3 separate regions of the Homo sapiens genome follow, and regions 1 and 2 are each linked to region 3. The links are contacts of gene promoters, found by promoter capture Hi-C in human tissues and cell types (Jung and others, 2019). All regions are on one chromosome and are shown on one strand. The core of a region is centred on a gene start or on the middle of the fragment in contact, and the rest is flanking DNA. Distances in the headings are between cores, read along the strand shown. Region 1 holds the start of LETM1 (leucine zipper and EF-hand containing transmembrane protein 1). Region 2 overlaps POLN (DNA polymerase nu). Region 3 holds the start of TNIP2 (TNFAIP3 interacting protein 2).

What was found. The method cuts DNA at HindIII sites, captures the fragments that hold promoters and counts their contacts. A contact is called where the count stands out against the background at its distance.
Region 1: a contact is called between the fragment with the promoter of LETM1 here and the fragment with the promoter of TNIP2 in region 3, in 1 of the 25 tissues and cell types used here (spleen).
Region 2: a fragment that was not itself captured here is called in contact with the fragment with the promoter of TNIP2 in region 3 in 2 of the 25 tissues and cell types used here (lymphoblastoid cells and mesenchymal stem cells).

Annotation. Positions count from the first base shown.
Region 1 is chr4:1,854,806-1,858,430 of GRCh38, forward strand. LETM1 (leucine zipper and EF-hand containing transmembrane protein 1) reads right to left here and starts at 1,351. Exons shown (of 14, transcript NM_012318.3): 1 at 1,064-1,351. The coding sequence starts at 1,145. RefSeq lists enhancers at 559-1,060, 1,698-1,767, 2,437-3,232 and silencers at 788-977, 988-1,547, 1,948-2,167. The HindIII fragment of the contact is 14,961 bases long and covers 1-3,625 here.
Region 2 is chr4:2,213,941-2,217,911 of GRCh38, forward strand. The region is part of intron 3 of POLN (DNA polymerase nu); the gene reads right to left. Among named protein-coding and RNA genes, the nearest start is that of HAUS3, 26 kb to the right of the region's middle. RefSeq lists a silencer at 1,542-1,836. The HindIII fragment of the contact is 4,456 bases long and covers 1-3,642 here.
Region 3 is chr4:2,754,300-2,757,887 of GRCh38, forward strand. It overlaps TNIP2 (TNFAIP3 interacting protein 2), which reads right to left and starts at 2,037. Exons shown (of 6, transcript NM_024309.4): 1 at 1,715-2,037. The coding sequence starts at 1,990. RefSeq lists silencers at 1,580-1,639, 1,660-2,179, 2,360-2,499. The HindIII fragment of the contact is 11,459 bases long and covers 1-3,588 here.

The sequences.
Region 1 (3,625 bases), core at 101-2,600, 900 kb before region 3:
ACAAACAAACAAAAAAAAACAAGAATTGGGAGGATACATTCAGGGCAACTTCAATCTATCTCTTTGGGGGTGGGGAACAGAGACAAGAATATTGAAGCTGGGTGCCTGGGCATGGTGGCTCCTGTAATCCCAGCACTTTGGGAGGCCAAAGCAGGAGGATCAGTTGAGCCTTGGAGTTCAAGACCAGGCTGGGCAACATACCAAGACCCTGTCTCTACAAAAAAACTACAAAAAAAAAAATTAGCTGGGTGTTGTGTGGCACAACTAACAACTTGGGAGGCTGAGGCAGAAGGATAGCTTGAGCCCAGGAGTTTGAGGTGCAGTGAGTATGATCGCACCACTGCACTAATTATTTTACTTGAGTCCCTCTTAGCAAGTTTTATGTTTATTCCAATTTTACAAATAAGGACATAGACTCAAATAAGTTGGTTAATTAGAGAGAGAGAGGAGGTGGGCACACCCTGGGACAGCATTCACTCCAGACAGCACCTGAGGCTAGGGGGGCTAAAGCCACGCACCCTGAGGACCCTCAGCGGCTCCGGAGTCCCCGTGTTCCCCGGGTGCCGGTCGCGGCCTAATCACACCACAGGGGTTTGTAGGTGCTGGCATCACCTCATCAGTGACGGACCAGGAAGGCTCCTGCAGCCCAGCAGGTCCTGCTCGCCGGTGTCTGCCCTGCCCACCCAGTCTCGTCTCCGGGACCCCAAACGTGACCAAAGGGCACGGCCGTCCTCGTGCGTGGACACGTTCCACCAAGCTTACTCGCGCAGGGCGCGCCAGGGCTGCCCAGCCCTTCAGAATTTTCCCACTGTCTCTGAGGCAGTGACCCGGGGGACCCGGCCGCCTAAGGTCACAACACACGGCAGAGGCCCAGCGGCTCCGCCCGGCGCTGGCGGCCCAGCCCGCGACGAGACCCGGGGCCCCACGGTCCCGCAGGGGCTCCGGAGGCCGGGACCACCGGGCTCCCCGCATCGCCGTGACAACCAGCCCGAACCCGCGGGTCGTCCGCGCTCCCGACCCACCAGCCGGGAGCCGGCCCCGCCCTGGGGTGCCCGCCGCTTACCCCGCGGGACGGTGTACCGAGGCGGCGGCGGGAGGCGGGCGGGCGCCCGGCCGCGGCAGCTCCTCAGTAAGATGGACGCCATGTGCTCGGGCGCGGCGGCCGCTCCGGCCTCCTGCGCTGCCTCCTTCTCCGCGGCGGCCGCGGCTCTTCGCCGTCCCGGCGGCGCTTCAGACCCGGCCCGCGCGGACGGCTGACAGAGGCGGCTGGCCTCGGACGGGAGGCGCTCTCCTCAAGGACCCGGCACCAGCGGCGGCCTTGTCCCGGCACAGACGTCCGGAGGCGCGGGGCGGGGCGGCCAGGCCGCGGCTCCCATTGGGCCCCTCAGCGCCCGCCGCTGGCCAGGTGAGGGGCGGACCGCGCCACCGCGGACTACCGGTTCCGGCGTGCACCGGGACGGCCTGCACGCTGGGGTGCGGACTACCGATCCCGGCGTGCACCGGAGCGGCGGACTACCCTGAGGCGCGGACTACCGGTCCCGGCGTGCACCGGGGCGGCTGGCTCCTGGGGCTCGCTGCATCCTGGTTCCCGTCGTACCGTGGACGCCGGGGCTCGCAGCGTGGCGGCCGCAGGAGCTGAGGGAGTCGGCCGCGCTTGCGCGGGGAGTGTCTTTTCGTCTCCGGGCGGCGGCAGCAGCGCGTGTGTCCGGAACTTTTCTGGGACTAAGTCCTGCACCCACGAGTAGAAAACGGCTCCTGGGAGCTTGGGGCTCCAAGGGCAAGTCAGGGGACGCTGGGGATGGAGGGGCGCCCTCGACGCCCTCGGCCGCGGTCCCTCGCCGGCCCCCCTGCTCTGTGGCTCTGCCCTCGGCGGTCTGCACTCTGGCGCGCGCAGCTCTGAGTGCCTCTTCCCTGCGTACCGGGCGGCGCTCCCCAGATACGGCGCTGCTCGGCGTCGGGAGTCCCCGTCACCACTGGGGGGACGGGAGCGCAGGGTCCCGCCCCGAAGGACAGGGCCATGCCGGCCCCTGGAGGCGAGGGCACTAGGCCGGGTGGCGGCGCAGCCAGCATAGCGGCCCCCCATCCCGGCACACCGCGTCCTCCCGTCTGAGCGGGAGGGGTAGATATGGGTCCTGCGTTGGCGCGGGGGGACCCCTCGTTTCGCTCTGGCCTAAGCAGCCCCTGGGGTCCCGCGCGCCGCAAGAGCGCCAGACTTCCTAACCTGGGCCATACCCTGTCCGCTCCACTTCCCAGTCCAAGAAGGAACAGCCGAAGCCCAGGACGCCAAGGACCTGGCTCGAAGTCTCCAGAATTCCCGCCAGAGCTGGGCTGGGCTCGCGGACCGCTCATGCGCCGTCTCCCAGGAGCCTCCCCCCAGCCCAGTTTAATAGCCGGCCCTGACCAGTCCAGGGGAGAGAGACCGTGCAGCCTCCCAGCAGACCGTGACCTCTGAGCTCCACCTTCCCCTTCCTTCCCTAAGATGAGGATCCCTGAGTTGGGGCAGAGAAAGCAGGCAGGGAGAAAAATGGGGACCTGCGGCGCTGGGGGCCCAGCTGGTGGAGATCTCCAGCTAGGAGATCCCCAGCACAGCACTTGCCCTGCCCTCTGTCTTGTTCAGGGATGTAACCTGCCTCCTCCTGCTTCTCCGCGGCACCTCAGGGCACCGCCTGGGGAGGGTCTTGTAGTGCACACTCAGCATCTCTGTTCCCTGGAGCGCATGGGGTGTGAAACGCCTGATGCCAGCCAGCTCCCCAGTCTTGAGAGGCTGGTTGAATGGCACATCTCCCTAGGAGGCTCCCTCCCCAGGGTCCCCTCTGCCCCTGCTGTCCATGCAGTCGGTCCTCACCCGTCAGGAAAACGTAGCCTGCTTGCCTGGGTGGTTTTCCCCATCAGGAACTGCCAGGTACTGGGCCTGGATGGGCTTGAATTCCCCATCTCAGTGGGAGAAGGGGGCATTGTTTAGTGCAGGGCACTTTGAAGCCGTCTGTAAGTCCCTGTGTCCACACCGGTCAGTGGGCACTGCAGACATCAAATGCAGACAGAGTTTAAGCACAACTAGGCCTGAACCTAGGCCTGTGCTGCCAACAGACATGAAGGGGCCCCTTTTCCACCCATCCCCCAGGAGGCAAGAGGGGGATACAGAAGGATAGTCCTTGCCTCCCCACCCAGGGTTGGACCTGAGCTGGAGTGGACAGTTGGTCAGGGTCAGAAAGAACTGGACTTTTTATGGCCCAGCTGTAGGACTTTTTATGGCTCAGCTGTAGGACTTTTTATGGCCCAGCTGTAGGACTGTATGTCCTAGTCCTGGTCTGGACATTGGTTCTGAGCACCAGATGACCCTGCCCGATGCTGGCTAGGGAGGGTGACCCCGGAGAGGGTGCAAGAAACAGTGCTCCTCTCGTTAATGCTGTGGGGTCCCAGGTGTCCCGGCAAGGCCAGGCAGGAGGTGGTGACTGCCCCATCTGTGCTAGTGCCTGTTTACAGGACTTTGAATGACACTGAAAGAGGAGGGAAGCCCTCCCCGCAGTCTCCACCCTGCCCAAAGTGCTGGGTGTGAGGAAATGTGGAACATACCCTCGCCTGCAGTTGGGATGACCCACCATCCCTGGACCAGAACAAGGAAAGC
Region 2 (3,971 bases), core at 165-2,664, 540 kb before region 3:
AAATGTAAGCTTAGGCCGGGCGTGGTGACTCACGCCTGTGATCCCAGCACTTTGGGAGGCTGAGGTGGGTGGATCACCTCAGGTCAGGAGCTCGAGACCAGCTTGGCCAAAATGGTGAAACCCCACCTCTACTAAAAATACAAAAATTAGCCAGGTGTGGTGGCAAGCACCTGCAATCCCATCTACTTGGGAGGCTGAGGCAGGAGAATTGCTTGAACCCGGGAGGTGGAGGTTGCAGTGAGCCGAGATTGCGCCACTGCACTCCAGCCTGGGTTACAGGGCAAGACTCTGTCCTGGGAAAAAAAAAAGTAAGCTTAAAAAAGAGAGAGAGAAAAGACCTCTAGAAGAGAACAGACAACCCAGAGACTGATCCCAAGACTTTATATACAACAAAGATAGTATTTCAATTCAATAGAAAAGGATAGATTAATTAATAGGGCTGGTATAACTAGCACCACATCAAAAAGAAAATAAATGCATTGGGAAAACTATTTGGAACAAAAATGACAAAGGGTTAACTGCTATATTATACAACAAGTTCTCATACATTTACAAGATAAGACAAACAATTCAACAGAAAAATGAGCAAAGAATAGGAAGAGGCAATACACAAAACAGAAAACCCAAAGAGGAAACAAATACAATACTCAGGGAAACGCAAATTAACTATAACTGGAAACACAGGGGAAGAGGTAGTCTCATGTATTGCTGGTAAAAATGTAAATAGACTCTTTCTAGAAGGCAAACTGTCAAGACTTATTAAAATTAATAATGCATACATCACTTTGGGAGTTGGGTGGAGAAAGTGACCCACAGGGAGCTCAAGATGGGCCTCTGGGAATGCTAGTTATGTTTCCTGAACTGGGTTTGGGTTTGTGAAATTTTGACCTAAACTAAACTTAGGATATGTGTGCTGTTTTATATATATACACACACACATATACACATACATATACATATATATGTATATACATATACATATATATGTATATACCTCAGCCATATATATATGAGAGACAGAGTGCTCTTGCCTTAACAAAAACAGATAGGAAATAATATCCATCATCTAACCAAATAATCTCTAACCAAATAATCTCACTCTTGGCTGTTTCACAGAAATATATGCAACAGTAAACAGGTTTAAACCAAAATGTTTATAGCAGTATTGCTCATTATGGCAAAGGACTGAAAATAAAGTAGATACCAATCAGAAGAAAACTGAGGAATAAATTACATAATATCCACATCATGAAATACATAGCCACTAAAAAGAATGACCTTGTTAAAACATAGATTGCAGGGGGGAAAATGACTCCAGCTATAGTGGTTGACTGAAGATGATGACCTCATTTTTAAAAATAATGACCAAATCTCCCCGCTTATGCACACGAAGATGTTACGCACATAACACTCGGGTACCCTGGGAGACCACCTCTGTGATGAAGGTTTGCATTTGAAAAGGTGATTGGAGAGTGAAGGAAGCAGAATCCAACCAAGGAAGACAATGGCTAAGATGCAGTCACTCAAAGGCCTGCCCTGAGCTGAGCATGGTCCTACAGATGTGTCTCCCAATGGGTCAAGACAGCTGGGCTTTTATACCCCTGCACAAACTAGTCACTGGACCAGTCACTCCTGGGGAAGGGGTGGGCCCTTGGGCAAAGAAGTTCTTTGCAGCCAGGCAATCAGGGAGGGGCTGTCCCAGGAGCAGGGACAGTGCTTCAGTACTAAAGGGGCATATGGGAACCACAGTGCTTGCTACACTCCACACTGCACTGCTCATAGCCACTTGCTTCAGGGACGTTCTGGGAGCAGCTCCTGTAGGATTCTGGCGGGCCTTTTCCTTGGGAAATTTATAAAAGGAAGGCACTGGGATGAACTACATCTTGCTGCAGCTGGCCTCAAGGTTGCAAATTACATTCATCTCCCTCCTCTACTGCCCATGCTAACTCCTCACCCTTGCCTATCTCCTCTGCTGCTCTAGGTGGCTTAGCTTACCTGATCAGGTAACCCAAACCCTCATCCCTGAGAGGTAAGCCCCTGGCCACCATGCCCTTCTCTGGCCATAGCCCCAGCATTTGCCATCAAATTTGGGCAGGGGACCATGAGGTGGCCAATCACATCACCTGGGTGCTTCCCTGCCCCCAGTTATGTAGTAACAGCTCTACCTCCACCTGACGCCCACGGTCAGCCACCCCAGAAGATGGAAATTACATTCCTTGCCAGCCAGTCTCTTGGCACAAGGAGCTCAAAATGACCAGACAGCAGCCACAGCTGGAAATTAAATGGCGTTCTTCCTGTGCCCCTGCTGGAAAGGTTTTCCCTTTGAGAGTCAAGACCTTTAAACCTTAAGAACCCAGAGGAGTGTGAGGGAGAAATACAGATTTCTAAGTGGGTCACTGGGAGTGATGACTTTCACCTTTTGGTTCCCAGACCCATTTATTACACAAACCAAGGACACTGCACCACGTACTGGTTAGTGATTTGCAGTGCAGACTGCACCCTGGAGGTGACTGCTTCATCACAGGTGTCACCTCCAGGCTGCACACGAGGTGAGCTGTGCCTTCCACAGACCATCCTGCTGCTCCATCAGGCTGGCAGCTTCTTGGTGTGTGGCTGTGAGGGAGACAGTGAGTCCTACTCTCATGTGCCCACTGCTGCAGTTCCTTGGCTGAGCGCAGGATCCTGTGGATCAAACACTCTGTGAAACTTGGGTGATGGAGCTGACTGAATCCATGAGAATGGGAAAGGCAAACCCATGCCTGTAACGTGTGTTGGTTCTGGCCAAGATGAATCACTGTACCTTCTAGGGCACAAGGGGTTCAGTGTTGTCAAATGACTGTTTCCCTCCAAGGAAGGTACAACTGGGGACTCAGTGTTTGGTCTCTGTTGCTGGAAGATTGGATGTTCTGCAGAGAAATAGCTAGGTCAGCTCTGGTGAGGGGGAGCCCCATGCTATGGGCCATGCACAGCATCTACCCACCCCATGATTACTCCATGAGAGAGCCCAGTGTGCCAGCATGGGCGCAGCAGATGGCAGAGGCTAGATGTCAACTGGCCAAGTCATCCTATTAATGTGGTGGTTTGGTGTGTCCCCATGGTGAATGTTCTTGGGTGGGAAGTACTTCGTGACTGTTCCCACAGATCCCTCCACATGCCTTACTCCAGGAACTCCCTGATCTTCCAATCTTTCTCATTCCAGGTACCTGAGCAACCTGTCAAGCCACTAACCGCTGCCCAAGAGTTCCAAATGTGTTAACACTGGGGCCACTTCTCCTTCCACACAAAGTAGATAGTCAAGGGGCACCACCCAACGTTCTACCCATTGGGTTTCCCTTGAGCACTGTCTTCCAGGGCTGCCTAAATCAGGCTGTTCAGAGCCCACCCACCATGAACCAAGCTCTAACTTTTCCTGCCTCCATCAGCTGGTCTTAAGGCTGCCCCCGTCAGAAGTACCAGTGCCAGCACCAATGATGTCATGGGTTCTGGGCCACATGAAAAGCTTGGTTGTGCCTGCTTGTACCTAGTACTAAATGAGCCACTTCCAACTTGCAATGGACAGCTGCATGCCCACCTCTCAGTGGGTCTGACAGAACCAGCTCATGCTGGCAGTTCTGGCTCATGGTCACTTGATGTCACCATGGCCTCACGCTCCATCTCTACCAGGGCCCAGTAGCATGACAGTTTTGTTTTTGAAAAATTTATAATTTGTTTCTGCAGATAGCATTGCCTTGCTCCAGAGTTCTAGGAGTCTGCATTGAGATTCTTCTGTTGGGGCTTTGCCTTAAGCTTCACATGGCATCTTTCCCCACTACAGATACCTCTAACATCACAAGGTCTGTTGGGTTGGAAGTCCAAGTAGCTGAGCCACTTGCTTCACAGCCTAGGCCTCTTACAGGATGCTTTCCTATGCAGTATTCCCAATGTGGAATATGCTGCCTCCACTCCCTAAACCCAGAGATGCCTATCAGGTG
Region 3 (3,588 bases), core at 787-3,286:
TACTATTGCACAAAAAAACTGTTACTTATACTGCTGTTGTGGTGTTATAGTTTATCATCAAAAAACAGACATAAACATCATAGACAAGGACAAAGAGAAGAAAGTCAGGATTTGCGTCTTTTTTTGTTTGTTTTTGAGACGGAGTCTCGCTCTGTCGCCCAGGCTGGAGTGCAGTGGCACAATCTCGGCTCACTGCAAGCTCCGCCGCCCGGGTTCATGCCATTCTCCTGCCTCCGCCTCCCAAGTAGCTGGGACTACAGGCGCCCGCCACCACGCCCAGCTAATTTTTTGTATTTTTAGTAGAGATGGGTTTTCACCATGTTAGCCAGGATGGTCTCAATCTCCTGACCTCGTGATCCGCCGCCTTGGCCTCCCAAAGTGCTGGGATTACAGGCATGAGCCACCGCGTCCGGACCCTTGTGTCCATTTTTAATTTAATTTTTTCAGACAAGGTCTCACTTTGTCACCCAGGTTGGAGTGCAGTGGTGCGATCTTGGCTCACTGCAACCTCTGCCTCCCAGGCTCAAGTGATCCTCCCACCTAAGTCTCCCTAGTGGCTGGGAGCACGGGCACGTGCCACCATGCCCGGCTAATTTTTTGCACTTTTTGTAGACAGGGTTTCACCATGTTGCTCAGCCTTGTCTCGAACTCCTGGGCTCAGGCAATCTGCCCGCCTTGCCTCCGAAAGTACTGGGATTACAGGCGTGAGCCACTGCACCCAGCCTAGGATTTGTGTCCTTTATCAGACACGGGCTGCATTTGCCATTGCTCCCAGCATAGAGTTGAAGCGCCACTAGTGAAAGACACATGCATGGGTGAGGGCTGGAAGGGACTCTAGAACACAATATGAGTACACGACCTTGGACCCAAGACACACATGTGTGCGTACACACACACACCATACACACCCCTCAGAATGTGTCTCCCGCACACACACCTCAAAACACCCCTAAGAACCAACCGGAACATACACACTACACAATACACACAGAATACACACAGCATACACACACCCCCCTCGGAATGTGTTCCCACACACGAACCTCAAAATACCCCTAAGAGCCCACCTGAACATACACCACACACACACAGAACCCAAGAACTGCACCAACCCCCCTCCTCAGAACCCAGTGCCTCCTCACCATCCCCCAGGACCCAGTGCCCTCCCAACCCCCCAGGATCCAGCATTCGCTTATCCCCTTCAGAACCTTGCACCCTCACCCCGCAGGACCCAGAGCCCCCTCACCTCCACCAGCACCTGGTGACGCCTCAAACCCCCCAGGACCCAGCACACCTCAGCCCGTGGTGTCCCCTTATCCCACTCAGGACCTGGTCCCCCTCTCTCCCCTAGGACCCAGGGTCCCCTCACCCCCCAGAAGCTGTTGCCCTATCACCCCCAGGACCCGACGGCCCCTTACCCCCAGGACCTAGTGTCCCTCAACCCCAGGACCCGGCACCCCCTCAACCCCCAGGACCTGATGCTCCCCCAACCCCTCAGGAGCCGGGGCCCCCTCACCCCCAGGACCCGGCACCCCCTCAACTCCCAGGACCTGGTGCTCCCCCAACCCCTCAGGACCCGAGGCCAACTCAACCCCAGGACCCAGTACCCCCTCAACCCCTCAGGACCCGGGGCCCGCTCGCTCACCCACCCAGGACCCGGCGGCCGCCACACGCACTCTCGCTCCCGCAGCTCCTCTGGTACCCGCCCTCGTACCTGGCGCATCTGGGCCTCGGCGGCGCCGCCCTCCTGCCTTCGCAGCTGCTCCCGGAAGCGCGCAACCTGCTCCAGCAGCGCGTCCACTAGGGACGGCGCGGCGTCCCCCTCCAGCGCGGCCAGGCGGGCGCGGAGGCGAGCGATGAGGGCGTCGCGGGCAGCGAGCTGGTCCTGCAGGCGGCGCAGCCGCTGTCCGGCCTCGTGGTACAGGGTGCAGAGCGCGGCAGCTGCGCGCGGGGCCTCCTCCCAGCCGCCCGACCCCGGGTCCCGGGACATGGCTGTAGGCCCGCCCGGGAGGCCGCGCGGCCGCCGGCAACTTCCGCGCCCGGGCCCCGCCGGCTGCCGCCCTTCCCGGAACTTTCCCCGGTGCGCCCCGCCCACCCACAACAGCCCGGCCCCGCCCTCCCCCACGCAGCCCCGCCCCCCGCGCAGCCCCGCCCTTCCCCGCGCAGCCCCGCCCGACGGCAGCCCGCCCAGCCCCTTCTCGCCCGGCCCCACCCCTCCCACCGCCTACAGCCCGGCCCCGCCCCTGCCGTCCGCACCCGTCCGGGAGAGTTGGCCTGGCCCCCGAGGCTGTCCACACCCCAGCTGGTGCTGGGCTTATTCCAGTGGCCCCAAACATCCGCCTCTGAGGAGTTGTCGGAGAGTCGAACTCAGCCCAGGAGTTTGGGGATTCATCAGCCTCTGATGGAAAGGAAGGGCTTAACGACAACCCCCAAGCTCTGGAGCTAAGTGTGGGTCTGAATCTCCCCGCGAGGGTCCAGGCCTTGCGGCCACAGCAGCAACAGAAGCTCCAGGAGCTGAGCTCGCAGCGCACCAAGCACGTGGCATGTGTTCCGTCACCTGGGGACACTGAGCCCAGAAAGAGCTCCAACCCCCTGCCCCGCACGCCGCTTTCTTTTTTCTTTCCTTTTTTTTCTTCTTTTTGAGACGGAGTTTCGCTCTGTTGCCCAGGCTGGAGTGTAATGGCGCGATCTCGGCTCACTACAACCTCCGCCTCCCAGTTTCAAGCGATTCTCCTGCCTCAGCCTCCTGAGTAGCTGGGATTACAGGCGCCCGCCACCATGCCCTGCTAATTTTTTGGTATTATTAGTAGAGATGGTGTTTCACCATGTTGGCCAGGCTGGTCTTGAACTCCTGACCTCAGGTAGATCCACCGGCCTCAGCCTCCCAAAGTGCTGGGATTACAGGCGTCAGCCACTGCAGACGCTGCTTTGTAAGGTGGCTAGTATGGGCCCACGGGACAACCTTCCTGCTAGATGCTGTTCTTATATAGCAGAAGCAGCAGGAAACCAGCCCCTTCCCACCCTTTCGCTTTTCCATCCCTTTCCTTCCCCAAAATTCCCAGACAAACGCTAGTGTTTTTCCACAGCCCAGTCTTCCCCACAATGATGCCCAAGCACACATGGGGTCTTTCCAAGGTTCCCTACTCAGGATAGGGCAGGGGTCTTCCCTGTGTGTGCACTTGCCCACAGGCTCCGCCCCTGAGCAGCTTCTTGACTTTCTTCCCTTATGTGATCCACAGCCAAGCCTGAGCTGAGCCTGGGAAAACACAAGCTTGTAGAATCAGACAAGCCTATAAGCAAAGCCAGAGCCACCCAAGTGCTTATGGCCCGGACATTGGGCTACACAGGCCTGGCTTTGCTATGGAAGGCTCCTTCTTACTCATCAGAGCCTGGGCTTCCTCTCAGCAGAAGGAAGGGCAGAGCGAGTGCCCACCCTACCTGGTTGGGCTGTTGTGGGGACTAGAGGGTGGAGTGTGCATGGAATGCTTGTCCAGTGCAGTGGCTGCTGCACAGCAAGCCTACAGTCCCCATGGCTATGGTTACAAACAATGCCTATTGATTGTCTGGGGCATGAGTGGAAAAAACAAA